Regions from separate parts of the Homo sapiens genome. Here all the other regions are linked to region 2. The links are contacts of gene promoters, found by promoter capture Hi-C in human tissues and cell types (Jung and others, 2019). All regions are on one chromosome and are shown on one strand. Each heading gives the region's core, a stretch centred on a gene start or on the middle of the fragment in contact. The rest is flanking DNA. Distances are from core to core; before and after follow the strand shown.

What was found. Contacts are between HindIII fragments. The study calls those that stand out against the background at their distance.
Region 1: the fragment with the promoter of CDK11B here is called in contact with the fragment with the promoter of ATAD3A in region 2 in 5 of the 25 tissues and cell types used here (adrenal gland, dorsolateral prefrontal cortex, heart left ventricle and 2 more).
Region 3: a contact is called between the fragment with the promoter of SCNN1D here and the fragment with the promoter of ATAD3A in region 2, in 1 of the 25 tissues and cell types used here (lymphoblastoid cells).

What each region holds. Positions count from the first base shown.
Region 1 is chr1:1,657,754-1,661,699 of GRCh38, reverse strand. CDK11B (cyclin dependent kinase 11B) reads left to right here and starts at 2,696. Exons shown (of 20, transcript NM_033486.3): 1 at 2,696-2,786. SLC35E2B (solute carrier family 35 member E2B) reads left to right here. Exons shown (of 10, transcript NM_001290264.2): 10 at 1-222. RefSeq lists enhancers at 2,310-2,589, 2,610-2,699, 2,131-2,853. The HindIII fragment of the contact is 36,520 bases long and covers 1-3,946 here.
Region 2 is chr1:1,510,645-1,514,187 of GRCh38, reverse strand. It overlaps ATAD3A (ATPase family AAA domain containing 3A), which reads right to left and starts at 2,026. Exons shown (of 16, transcript NM_001170535.3): 1 at 1,715-2,026. The coding sequence starts at 1,919. RefSeq lists silencers at 1,909-2,068, 2,519-2,718 and an enhancer at 2,219-2,278. The HindIII fragment of the contact is 15,639 bases long and covers 1-3,543 here.
Region 3 is chr1:1,278,748-1,282,584 of GRCh38, reverse strand. SCNN1D (sodium channel epithelial 1 subunit delta) reads right to left here and starts at 2,149. Exons shown (of 18, transcript NM_001130413.4): 1 at 1,919-2,149; 2 at 1,288-1,359; 3 at 975-1,174; 4 at 270-343. The coding sequence starts at 1,923. It overlaps LINC01786 (long intergenic non-protein coding RNA 1786), which reads right to left. Exons shown (of 3, transcript NR_185846.1): 3 at 1,978-3,517. The HindIII fragment of the contact is 6,841 bases long and covers 1,467-3,837 here.

The sequences.
Region 1 (3,946 bases), core at 1,447-3,946, 150 kb before region 2:
TTGCATGTGACCTATTTCAGTATTTATATAACTAGATTAGTGCTTTCTAGCAAACGGTTCTGTTAATTAGCGAGTCACTGTTGATTCTGCTGTGGTGGTAAGTTGATACCGTGTAACTAATCCCGTGGATGCCTCCTCGTTATTTTTGTCCAAACGAAGCAGCCGTGGTAGTAGCTGTCTATGATTCTTGCTCAGCAAAGTAAAATAAATGTTAAATATGGACTGCTTTGTTTTCTTCCTTGTGGAACTCTGGTGTTCATGCTACTTTGTTCACCGGTGGGGCTGGCTGTTGCTAGCAAAGAGGCTCTTCACAGAAGTGGCTGAACCCAAAGTTCTGGTTGGGAAAGGCCTTTGTGGCAGCTCCTATCAAGCGCAAGTGCGAGGCCACCCCCTCCTCGTGGGCTCTGGGGTCGATTTTGTTAGGGTTTGACATGAGTGGCTGCATTTGGGTACTCACAGATTTCACAAAGGAAGGGTAAACTGGAGATTTTTGGCCGGGCACGGTGGCTCATGACTATAATTTCAGCACTGTGGGAGGCTGGTGGGCAGATACTTTAGGTCAGGAGTTCAAGACCAGCCTGGCCAACATGGCAAAATCCTGTCGCTACTAAAAATACAAAAGTTAGCCAGGTGTGGTGGCGCACGCCTATAATCCCAGCTACTCGGGAGGCTGAGGCAGGAGAATCACTTGTACCCAGGAGGCGGAGGCTGCAGTTACCCAAAATTGTGCCACTGCACTCCAGCCTGGGTGACACAGCGAGACTTTTTCTCAAAACAGAAAAAAACGTGCTGTGGCTCACGCCTGTAATCCCAACCCTTTGGGAGGCCAAGGCAGGCAGATCACAAGGTCATGAGATCAAGACCATCCTGGCTAATACAGTGAAACCCCATCTCAACTAAAAACACAAAAAAATTAGCCGGGCGTAGTGGTGGACGCCTGTAGTCCCAGCTACTCGGGAGGCTGAGGCTCGCAGGATAATGGCGTTGAACCCGGGAGGTGGGGCTTGCAGTGAGCCGAGATTGCGCCACTGCACTCCAGCCTGGGCGACAGAGCAAGACTCCGTCTCAAAAAAAAATAAAAATAAAAAAATAGGGAGATTTCCCCAGTTACCAAGAACTCAGGAAGCAACATTAAGAGCTTGGGGGAGGCCAGGCGCGGTGGCTCACGCCTGTAATCCCAGCACTTTGGGAGGCAGAGGCAGGCTGATCACGAGGTCAGGAGATTGAGACCATCCTGGCTAACACGGTAAAACCCCGTCTCTACCCAAAATAAAAAAAAAATTAGCCGGGCATGGTGGCAGGCGCCTGTAGTCACAGGTACTCAGGAGCCTAATGCGGGCGAATGGAGTGGAGGCGGGAGAATGGCGTGAACCCGGGTGGCGGAGCTTCCAGTGACCCGAGATCGCGCCACTGCACTCCAGCCTGGGCAACAGAGCGAGACTCCGTCTCAAAAAAATAAAAATAAAAAAAGAGCTTGGGTACACAAAGCAAGCAGCATTTCATTCCGGGATGAAAAAAATTCCGATACCCATCGCCCTTCTTGGGCCCTTGTCAGTTTCTTGCCACATCTTTCATTTTCCCATTTCAGGCCCAGTAAATGCGGATGTTTATCTTCCATTGTTTGTTTCCTGAGATTCAGATGTCTAAAGCATTTTTCTGTGACTTTTCAAGTCAAGAGGAAAACCTGACATATGGAAAGGGAATTAATTGCTCGTTTTATCCTCTTCTCCTGCAATGCTCTGAATCCATGGGTTTGGAGTGGGGCCCTGGGAGTTGGGGGAAGCACCATACCCAGTGAGTCTGCACTTTGAGGACCCACTGCCAGTGTCAGCTTCAAAATCACATTGTAAAAGGCCGGGCGCGGTGGCTCACGCCTGTAATCCCAGCACTTTAGGAGGACGAAGCGGGCGGATCACTTGAGGTCAGGAGTTCGAGACCAGCCTGGCCAATATGGCGAAACCTCGTCTCTACCAAAAATATAAAAATTAGCCGGGCGTGGTGGCGCGGGCCTGTGGTTCCAGCTACTCGGGAGGCTGAGGCAGGAAAATTCCTTGAACCCGGGAGGAGGCTGCAGTGAGCCAAGACCACGCCACTGCACTCCAACCTGGGCGGCAGAGCAAGGCTCCGACTCAAAAGTAAATACATGAATAAATAAAATAAAATCACATCGTAAGAGCTCTCCCTGCCCTGTTTCTGAGTAAGGTTCAGAGTTAAATTCCGAGATCGGCCTTTACAAGACACACAGACCTGAGGCGCCTCACGAGGTAACCAGCAGGTAAATGGAGCGCGCTCCACCCACCCGCCACTAGGGGTCCCAGCGGTCAAGGGGGTGGAATGCGGGCGTCCATCGCGAAGGCATTCTGCTCGCAAGCCTTGGCACAGGCGCGGGCTTCGCTACCGGAAAAGTCCCGGTAGGATTCCGGAAGCCGGCCACGCGTTCCGCGCAGGCGCAAACTGCTCCAAAAGTGGGCGTCGCTCCTCCGGAGTCCCGATTCCTGCGTCACAGCCCGCGCCGAAGTCGGAAGTGCGCTCACCGGGCTGTTTCTTCTGGCGTCCTGGACCTGAGCAAGCGCTGTTTTATGCGTTATCATCCCGCGCAGACACAGGAAGTGCCGCACAGAGCGAGCCCCTGTCGTTGTCTCGAGTTCTGGGCCGGAGGTCGGCTATTATATCATCATTACGCGCCAATACAGGAAGTGACGATACTTTTGGCGCGCGCCGGTTGCTGTTTCTTCTCTGGCTCCGGGACCGGCGGCGGCGGCGGCGGCAGCGGCGGCGGCGTAGGGGTGAGTTCCGACTGGGCGGACCAGGTGTGGGAGCGCGAGGAGAACTGCGCACCGAGGTCTTTCTTCCGAGCAGGCCTCGGAGCGGGGCGGACCCGGGCCCGGGGGCGAGCGACACCCTCGCTTCCGCGGACAGTCTCATCCCGCACGGAACTTTGGGTGGTGGAGGCGGCGGGTCCAAACGCTGTCTGGAGCCAACGTCTGCCAGGCTGAACCTCAAGTGTGCGGGACTGAACCCGAGGAAATAGCCCAGTGCCCGGGTCAGGTGGCCTTGTTCGCGAGCACATCTCGGAGCATCTCCCCGGTCTCAAGGTGCAGCTGTCCAGTGTGCTAGTGGCTTCACGTAGTCCAAGCGGTCTTTCTAGCAGATTCTGACAGTAAAAGCAGTGTTTGATGAGTGGCAGGTCCTGAGTTAAGAGCCTTTAAACGGATGATCTTTAATCCGCGATCGATACTATCACGTAGGTGTTGTTATTCTGGTTGTACGGAAGACTAAACTGAGGTGAATTACGTTACCCAAGACCATACAAGAATGACAGAAACGAGACTTGATTTCAAGCGGTCATTTTTCAGAACCCATCACTCTTTTTTGTCGCCCATGCTGCAGCGCAGTGGCTGTTCACAAGCGCACTTCAGCCTGGAACTCCTGGGCTCAATCGGTCTCCCATCTCAGCTTGCAGAGTATATGGGACTACAGGCGCTCGCCACCTTGCCTGGCTTACAACTTATCATTCTTGTTTTTTTTTCTTTTTTTTTTGAGACGGGGTCTTGCTGGAGTGCAGTGACGCGACCTCGGCTCACCGGAACCTCCGCCTTTCGGATTCAAGCGATTCTGCTGCCTCGGCCTCCCGAGTAGCTGGGATTACAGGCACCCGCCACCACGCCCAGCTAAGTTTTGTATTTTTAGTGGAGACAGGGTTTTCGCCGTGTTGGCCAGGCTGGTCTTGACCTCCTGACCTTGTGATCCACCCGCCTCAGCCTAGAGCTTACTTTTTTTTTTTTTTTTTTTTTTTTAACCAAGTCTTACTTTGTTATCTAGGCTGGAGTGCAGTGGCGCAGTCTTGGCTCATTGCAGCCTTGACCTCTCTGATTCAAGTGATCCTCCTGCCTCTAGCAGCCTCCTTCCTGTAGCTAGGAATACAGGCACGCGCCACCACACTGGG
Region 2 (3,543 bases), core at 777-3,276:
GGAGAGGGGAAAGAGCAGGTCAGGTGCCCGTGTGGCCTCTCGGTTATTAGAGTGAGAACAATCATTCACCACTTTGGTGTGACCCTGTGCCAGGGACGTGCGTCCCAGCGCGTGAATTCACACCCACAGGGCACGAGGCTCTCCTCCAGGCACCCCCTCTGTGGAGTGCAGGGCGAGCGCTGGTGCTCACAGACAGTTCTGGGATAATGTACTGCTGTGACTTCCAAGGACAGGCCGGAGGAGGGGTCAGGGCACTCTGGGAACCAGGCGGCATGGGGCTATAGCCTCAAGGGACAGAGGAGGCAGTCGGTGAGGAGGAGCCGCCCGTTTGCCTGGAGAGCAGCAAGGACAAAGCAATGGGCTCCGGCCGAATCTCGGCGACCCGCTGCCAGGAAAGGGGCACGGAGGAAGCCAGGAGCGTCGGGAGGGGCCGGGCTTGCAGAGGGGCTACCAGGCAGAGGGGCAGGGCAGGGGGCACCCGGGGAAAGGGGGCAGTCAACTCTGGAGAAACCTCTCTCACCTGCCAGCAGTGAGGCCAGGAAGGAGGGAAGGGATCAGAATGAAAGAGCCCACACCTGGAACACAATCCACAGGAAACAAAAGCCTGATGGAGGGCTCCCCACGGTGCACCTGGAGACCCTGCCCCGGGCCCCGCTCCACCACAGAGAGGGCAGACCAAGGCACTGGCAACGCCGGCAGAGCGGACTGCGGGTCAGGAGCTCCGGGGCCGCCAGGACTGGAGCAACTCAGAGGCACAGGTCTGCACTATGGGGAGGCGGCCTGAGGCTGCTCAACCAGGCCTGTACCACTGCAGGGGGCCGCAGGCTGATCACTACGATTCAGCTTCTGGAAGTGGGAGAAGTTTCAATCTCTAAGTGAAGTTAGCGGGTGAAAACCCCCAGGAACTAGGACACAAAGGAACCCTCCAAATAAGCCTGCAGCAAGAAAGTCAGTCACCAACATCCGCTGTCCTCCGAGGTGCCCTGAAGTCCAGCCCTTGATTCCCATCCTAACCTGATGGTTAAAATTACCGAGGAAGGCCATGAGCAGCGGCTCACGCCTGTCATCCCAGCGCTTTGGGAGGCCGAGGTGGGCGAATCACCTGAGGCCAGAATTCAAGACCAGCCTGAACAACATGGTGAGTGCTCACACCCTGAGGGCCTTGGGTCAGGGGTTTACTCAAGCTGAGCAGCACGGCCTGGCCTGTGGCTTCACAGACCTCGCCGTGCAAATGCTAACGTCTTCCAACAAGAAGTGCAAATCTGCTAGTCTCGTTAGAATCAAGTAACTCTCAAATACGCTTCCCTTGTTACGTGGAAACTGCTAGCAACCACCCAACAAACCCATCTACCCATCTGGCCACGCCTTGGCCTGTGCCACGTGGAGGCGGCAAGCGCAGAAGGATCCCGCACGCTCGGCGGTAACTGAAGACCACGGCCAGCCCCAGACCCTGACCCCTGTAACCTATGAGCGCCACCTCCGCACCGCTTTCCGCACCTGACCCGCTCCTGACAGCTGCAGAGGTGCAAACGGGTGACGGAAAGAGTCCGATCCTCCCGGCACGCGACACGGCTCCGGCCGGGGGTGCTCCGGGGGCGCAGTCTCGCCCGGGAAGTGGCTGCCGACAGCGGCGAGGAGCGGCAAGGGCCAGGGCTCCCGCTTCCCCGGCCCGTCCCGCCCGCCCGCCCGCGCCGCCCCGCCCCGCCGCACTCACGCGAGTGCTCCAGCTCGCGCGCCGCCTTGGCGGCGCGCTCCAGGCCGGTGGGGTCGAAGTTGCTCCATTTGTCCTTGGGCGCCGGCCGGTCTCCCAACCCGCGGTCCCCGCCGCCCTCGGCCCCGGGCTGCGCGGGCGGCAAAGGCGGCGGCGGCCCCGCGCCTTCACCCTTGGGGCCCTTGTTAATGCCGAAGAGCCACGACATGCTCGCACCGCCGCCGCCGCTACCGCCGCCGGGACCCCCACCCGAGTCTGACTCGCGCGCGGCTGGGAGCAGCCTCCACGCGCCGCGAGCCGGTGGTCACCGCCACTGCGCAGGCGCCACACACACCCCTTCCTCCCGGCGATAGAAGCGCGTAAGGGACACGCGCGCAGCCCTTGGATTGGCCCCGAGGACAGTGACGCCATAGCGACGGCGCCGCGACTGCCGAACAGGCTTTGGGAGCCAGCGGGGCGGGAGCGGCGAAGCATCTGGCTACGGGAGCCACGCCGGGACAAAATTCCCGAGGGACGTAGGCGAACCCAAGGCAGCGTCAGCCCCGCGCCGCATCCGCGTGGGCTCCGTTGCTAGGGGCTCCGTTGCTAGGGGCTCCGAGGAGTTCCGGCCTTGGCGGCAGCGGGTGGCAAGTTTCCAGGGAGCCCCAAGGTTCTCGATCCGTGCGGCGGGGCGCCCTGCGGTGAGTCCAGGACGCAGAGAAGAGTCTCGCGGGAACCTCACCCGAGGCGGCACCGGCGCCCGGGCAAGCCGAGCCCTTCCGCGATGAGTCGGCGCCCTGGGGTCGCTGCGCCAAGAGCTCAGGAGAGGCGCCTCCCCTCCTCGGTGTCTCCGCAGCCCGCACGGCCCTCCCGCCCAAGACCCCGGGGCGACCCCTTCCCGCGTGGCGGGGCCAGCGAGCTCCTCTTGCGGGGCGTGGACGGGGCCGGGGTGCCCGGGCAGGCGCCGCCCCGGAGCCCACGGTCCACGCGCTCCCAGCGGCCCTGACTTTCTCCTTGATGGAACTGGTTGACTTCACGGAATATATGGAGTGACTTTTCCCACTGGATTGGAAACTGTTTTAAGCCTGAATAATGTTAGATACAATGAGTTCTAAACTTCCCTTCAAAGAATCAGTATATCAGTATGTTCAGTCTTTGTCCTGCATTTTAAAGTCTACCTTCCTCGCAGTTTCAGTAAACAACCTTTTCCACCAGTTCTAGTCAGTAGTTGACATCTGTTGCCCTGGTCACCTGCTCCGTCCTAACTAATCCCGGTCTCCTGCTTTGACCTGAGTCACCTTTAGTTACCTGTCCCATAACCATTTTTCCCGCCAAACCACTCACCCCGCCACTCTGGCCCATACTCCTGCTCCCTTTAAAATAGCCAATGGGCACTAGTTTAGACTGTGCATTCTAACCCTAGCCAATAGGGGAACCACACAGCAGTAGGGGCTACCCGCGTCAGGAATAAGAACCCCTTCCCCTCCCTTGTCCAAGCGCTCGCCATTGCTCCATCTATGAGATGTCCCCTTCTATAGAAGTAAATTATCTAGCTGAGAAAAATTTATATTCGAGTTCTACTTCTTTGGCGGCACAGAAAATTTACATATAACACAGTGAGCTGCCGAGATCTCGTCACTGCACTCCAGTCTGGGCGACTGAGTCAGACTCTGTCAAAAAAAAAAAAAAAAGCCAGAAAATGCCGGCCAGGCGCGGTGGCTCACACCCGTAATCCCAGCACTTTGGGAGGCCGAGGTGGGCAGATCACCTGAAAACAGGAGTTTGAGACCAGCCGGGCCAACATGGTGAAACCCCTGTCAAAAATACAAAAATTAACCTGGGCATGGTGGCGT
Region 3 (3,837 bases), core at 900-3,399, 230 kb after region 2:
GTCTTCAGCCCCAGTGCGGTTGTGTGGAAGGCAGGTGTCCCTGTCCCCCAGGACCACCCCATCCCTGTCTACTGTGGGACCCTAGATATCCAGGTGGCCTCACTGTCCCAAATGACCAGACCCGAGCCGGGCCCAGGTTGGAAGGGTAGGCTCTGTGTTCCTGACATCCTGCCCCAAGTGGTGCTGGGTCCCTGGGCTTGGCTGGGGGAGCCCAGCCCCACAGGGTCCAGCAGCAGAGCCATGGCTCTGAGGAGGGTGAGGTCACCTGCCTGCCGGCTCTGGAAGGAAGCAGCTGCCACCGGTGACGTCCTGGAGAGGAAAGCCATGCTGGAGTCACCCAGGCCTGTGTGAATCACAGCTTCGTCACTGGCTGTGTGGCCTTCCCGAGTTACTCAACCTCTCTGAGCTGATTTCCTTGAGTGCCAGATGGGGCTGGGGTGCCTCTCCAAGCTCGCGGCAGGGGGCTTGCTGATGTCACAGAGACCCCACAGGTCAGCGGCAGGGCCCCCGGACACAGCACAGGCCTGGGGCTTCTCCCCCACCACATCTGGGCAGCTTTGTGCGTGGGCCGCACCTGCCGAGGAGACAGGGCACACATGGCCCGGGCGGCTACTTGGCAGGCGGGGACAAGGTCCTAGGTGCTTGCCAGAGATTGTGGCTGGAAGCAGCCTGTGCCTCCCTGTGTCCCCGGGAGTGGCCTGGCAGACAGCCCAGCCTTGGTGCAGGGTGCAGAGAGAGAAAGAGCCCAGGTCCGGCCAGTGGGGCCCGGTCCAGCCAAAGGGCAGCTTGCAGGAGCAAGGCCCCCGGCTTCCTGTAGGAGGGGGAGCCCTGGCCGGGGGCAGAGCACCCCTTCCATGACCCGTATGCCCTGCAGGGCCTCAGTCAGAGCACATCTCGGCTGGATCACGCAGCTCCCGGCTCCACCCCCCTCCCCTCCTCCCGGGCAAGGCCTCTAAGGGCTGAGGTTCAGTCACCTGTCCCACACCCCTGTATCGGGCCAGAGAGTAGGCAGAGGGGGTAGCCACAGAGCACATGTCCAGCACTGGTGAATCCACATGGTCCTCCCCCTCTTCTGGGCCATCCCCTCGCTGGCCCGGTGCAGGGGGTGGGGTGGGGCGAACCCAGCTCCCGGCATGTGGGGGTCCTGTGGTCACTGCACCATGACCAGGTGAGCCTGAATGAGAGAAGGGACGGGCAGGCATCCCTGGCTCCCTTTGGGCCCATGCCTCTGCTCTCTCCCAGGAAAGACGGCCAGGCCCCATTGACCGAGCATGGCTGTGAGCTCACCTCCTTGGGCCGCTGAGGTGGCCGGGCCACAGGTAACGAGGGAGCGGTGTTGTCTTCTGTGACAGCACTGCCCTGGAGATGGCAGGCGCCTGGCATCTGTGGGACCCCAGCCAGGACCTCCTATCCCAGAGCCCCGTTTCCTCCCCTGGGGTGAGCGTCCCCCACTCAGGGTCACTCTGAGTCAGCCCTGGGACGGTTCTGGTGCAATAGACAGGCAGCCCAAGGTCGGGATTCCCGTGGGCATGGGCAGGCCAGGGGTGGCCTGGGGTCCCTCTGGGGTCCTGCACCCAGGCAGGTGAACAGCCTCCCAGGCAGAGCCCCCTCGGCCCCGGGCATCAACTGCACTGTCCAGTGGAGCCTCCGCAGAACAGGCACTAAGGTGGCACCAAGGTGCCCCCGGCTGCTGGCCTGGGTGGGTGCTGAGGGTGGGAGTGTGGAGCTTGGGGTCTGGCCGGTGTCCCCTGCTGGGAGGAGTAAGGTGCGTGTGGGCTGCCTTCTAGGTTCCCTCATAAACCAAAAATAAAATTATAAGCCCTGAACTGTCTGGATGGACCCCTGGTCTTAGCCATGGGCATTCCAAAGTTAACCTGAAAAACTAGCTCAGCTGTGATGGGAAGGGAGTCGGACGCACCTCATGCCTCCTCCCTGCTGGAATTCAGGCACAGCATCAGCATCACCTCAGGCCTTGAGTCTGATGAGAAGCATTTATAGTTGATTCTCTCTGAGGCTTGTGACCTGGTGGCTTCATCTGCGATAAGACCTTCATCTGCACAACGCCATACTGTAACCAGACATTCCCTTCTACTGATAACAACTCTTTTTTTTTTTTATTTATTGAGATGGAGTCTCGCTGTCGCCCAGGCTGGAGGGCAGTGGCGCGATCTCGGCTCACTGCAGGCTCCGCCCCCCGGGTTCACGCCATTCTCCTGCCTCAGCCTCCTGAGTACCTGGGACTACAGGCGCCCGCCACCACGTCTGGCTAATTTTCTGTATTTTTAGTAGAGACGGGGTTTCACCGTGTTAGCCAGGATGGTCTCGATCTCCTGACCTCGTGATCCGCCCACCTCGGCCTCCCAAAGTGCTGGGATTACAGGCATAAGCCACTGCGCCCAGCCTAATTTTTGTATATTTTTTTAGTAGAGATGGGGTTTCACCATATTGGCCAGGCTGGTCTTGATCTCTTGACCTGGTGATCCGCCTGCCTCGGCCTCCCAAAGTGCTGAGATTACGGGTGTGAACCACTGCGCCCGGCCACCTTTTTCTTAAGACAAGGAGAACGACTCCCTTTTGGGTACCCCATTTGGTTTCTAGCTCGGACGTGCGTTCCTAAGGGTCTTCTCTGTTGCTTTTTCTCCCAAAATTAAGCCCAACTGGCTTGTGCGTGCATTTGCATGAGGAACTGAATTGTTCTTTGCATAGATAAATGAGAGACTGAGTTTTCTCAGCTCCAGAAAGAAAGGCATTTTGCTCCTCCCAGCTGAAAGGCGCCCCTGGGTGACTGTGAGCCAAGTGGGAGTATCTCGTGGGCTGATCCCCCACGACGTGCAGCAGCCCCACAGGGAACCCCCCAACACAATTAGTTTAAAAAGGTTTGTCTGCTGGGTGCAGTGGCTCACGCCTGTAATCCCAGCACTTTGGGAGGCCGAGGCGGGTGGATCACGAGGTCAGGTGATCGAGACCATCCTGGCTAACACGGTGAAACCTCGTCTCTGCTAAAAACACAAAAAATTAGCCGGGCATTGTGGCGGGAGCCTGTAGTCCCAGCTACTTGGGAGGCTGAGGCGGGAGAATGGCGTGAACCCGGGAGGCAGAGCTTGCAGTGAGCCGAGATCGTGCCACTGCACTCCAGCCTGGGCGACAGAGCGAGACTCCGTCTCAAAAAAAAAAAAAAAAAAAAGGTTTGTCCAGGAAATGCACATAGGAGCTGGTCACTCTGTGTTTTGAGTCCTCTCGGAGGTGTTGGACTTCTAGAGAGAGAAACAGAGACACGTAAGAGGGCGAAGATGCCTCAGTGGTGACACACTGGGGAGTCCCGCCCACGACCCGTCCACGACCGGCACACTCAACCTGCTCCACGGAACCCCATTCCACAGCTCGGTTCCTCTGCGCCCCACCTGCTCCACGGAACCCCAGTTCCTCCATACTCAACCTGCTCCACGGAACCCCAGGCCACAGCTCAGTTCCTCCGCGCCCCACCTGCTCCATGGAACCCCAGGCCACAGCTCGGTTCCTTTCAAGAAAAAAAAAAGTGGGAAATAAATAATGTAAGCCTCAGCAAAGACAAGAGGGCGACCTCCTTCCAGGCACCCCGCTGGTTTCAGGCGCCTCTACCTGCAAGTGTTGGTATAAAACTGAACATGTCGCGGGCATGCTGGGTTTCCTAGTGCCCCAGCTGGTTCCATATTATGGTCTTTTGGGGCACATTTTAAACTGATGGGCAAATTCCATCCAGGAAAAATTCAGAGCCCAAAGGTCAGCCTGCAACTACAGAACCATAGAGTTCCTGGCCAGGCGCAGTGGCTCACGCCTGTAATCCCAGCACTTTTGGAG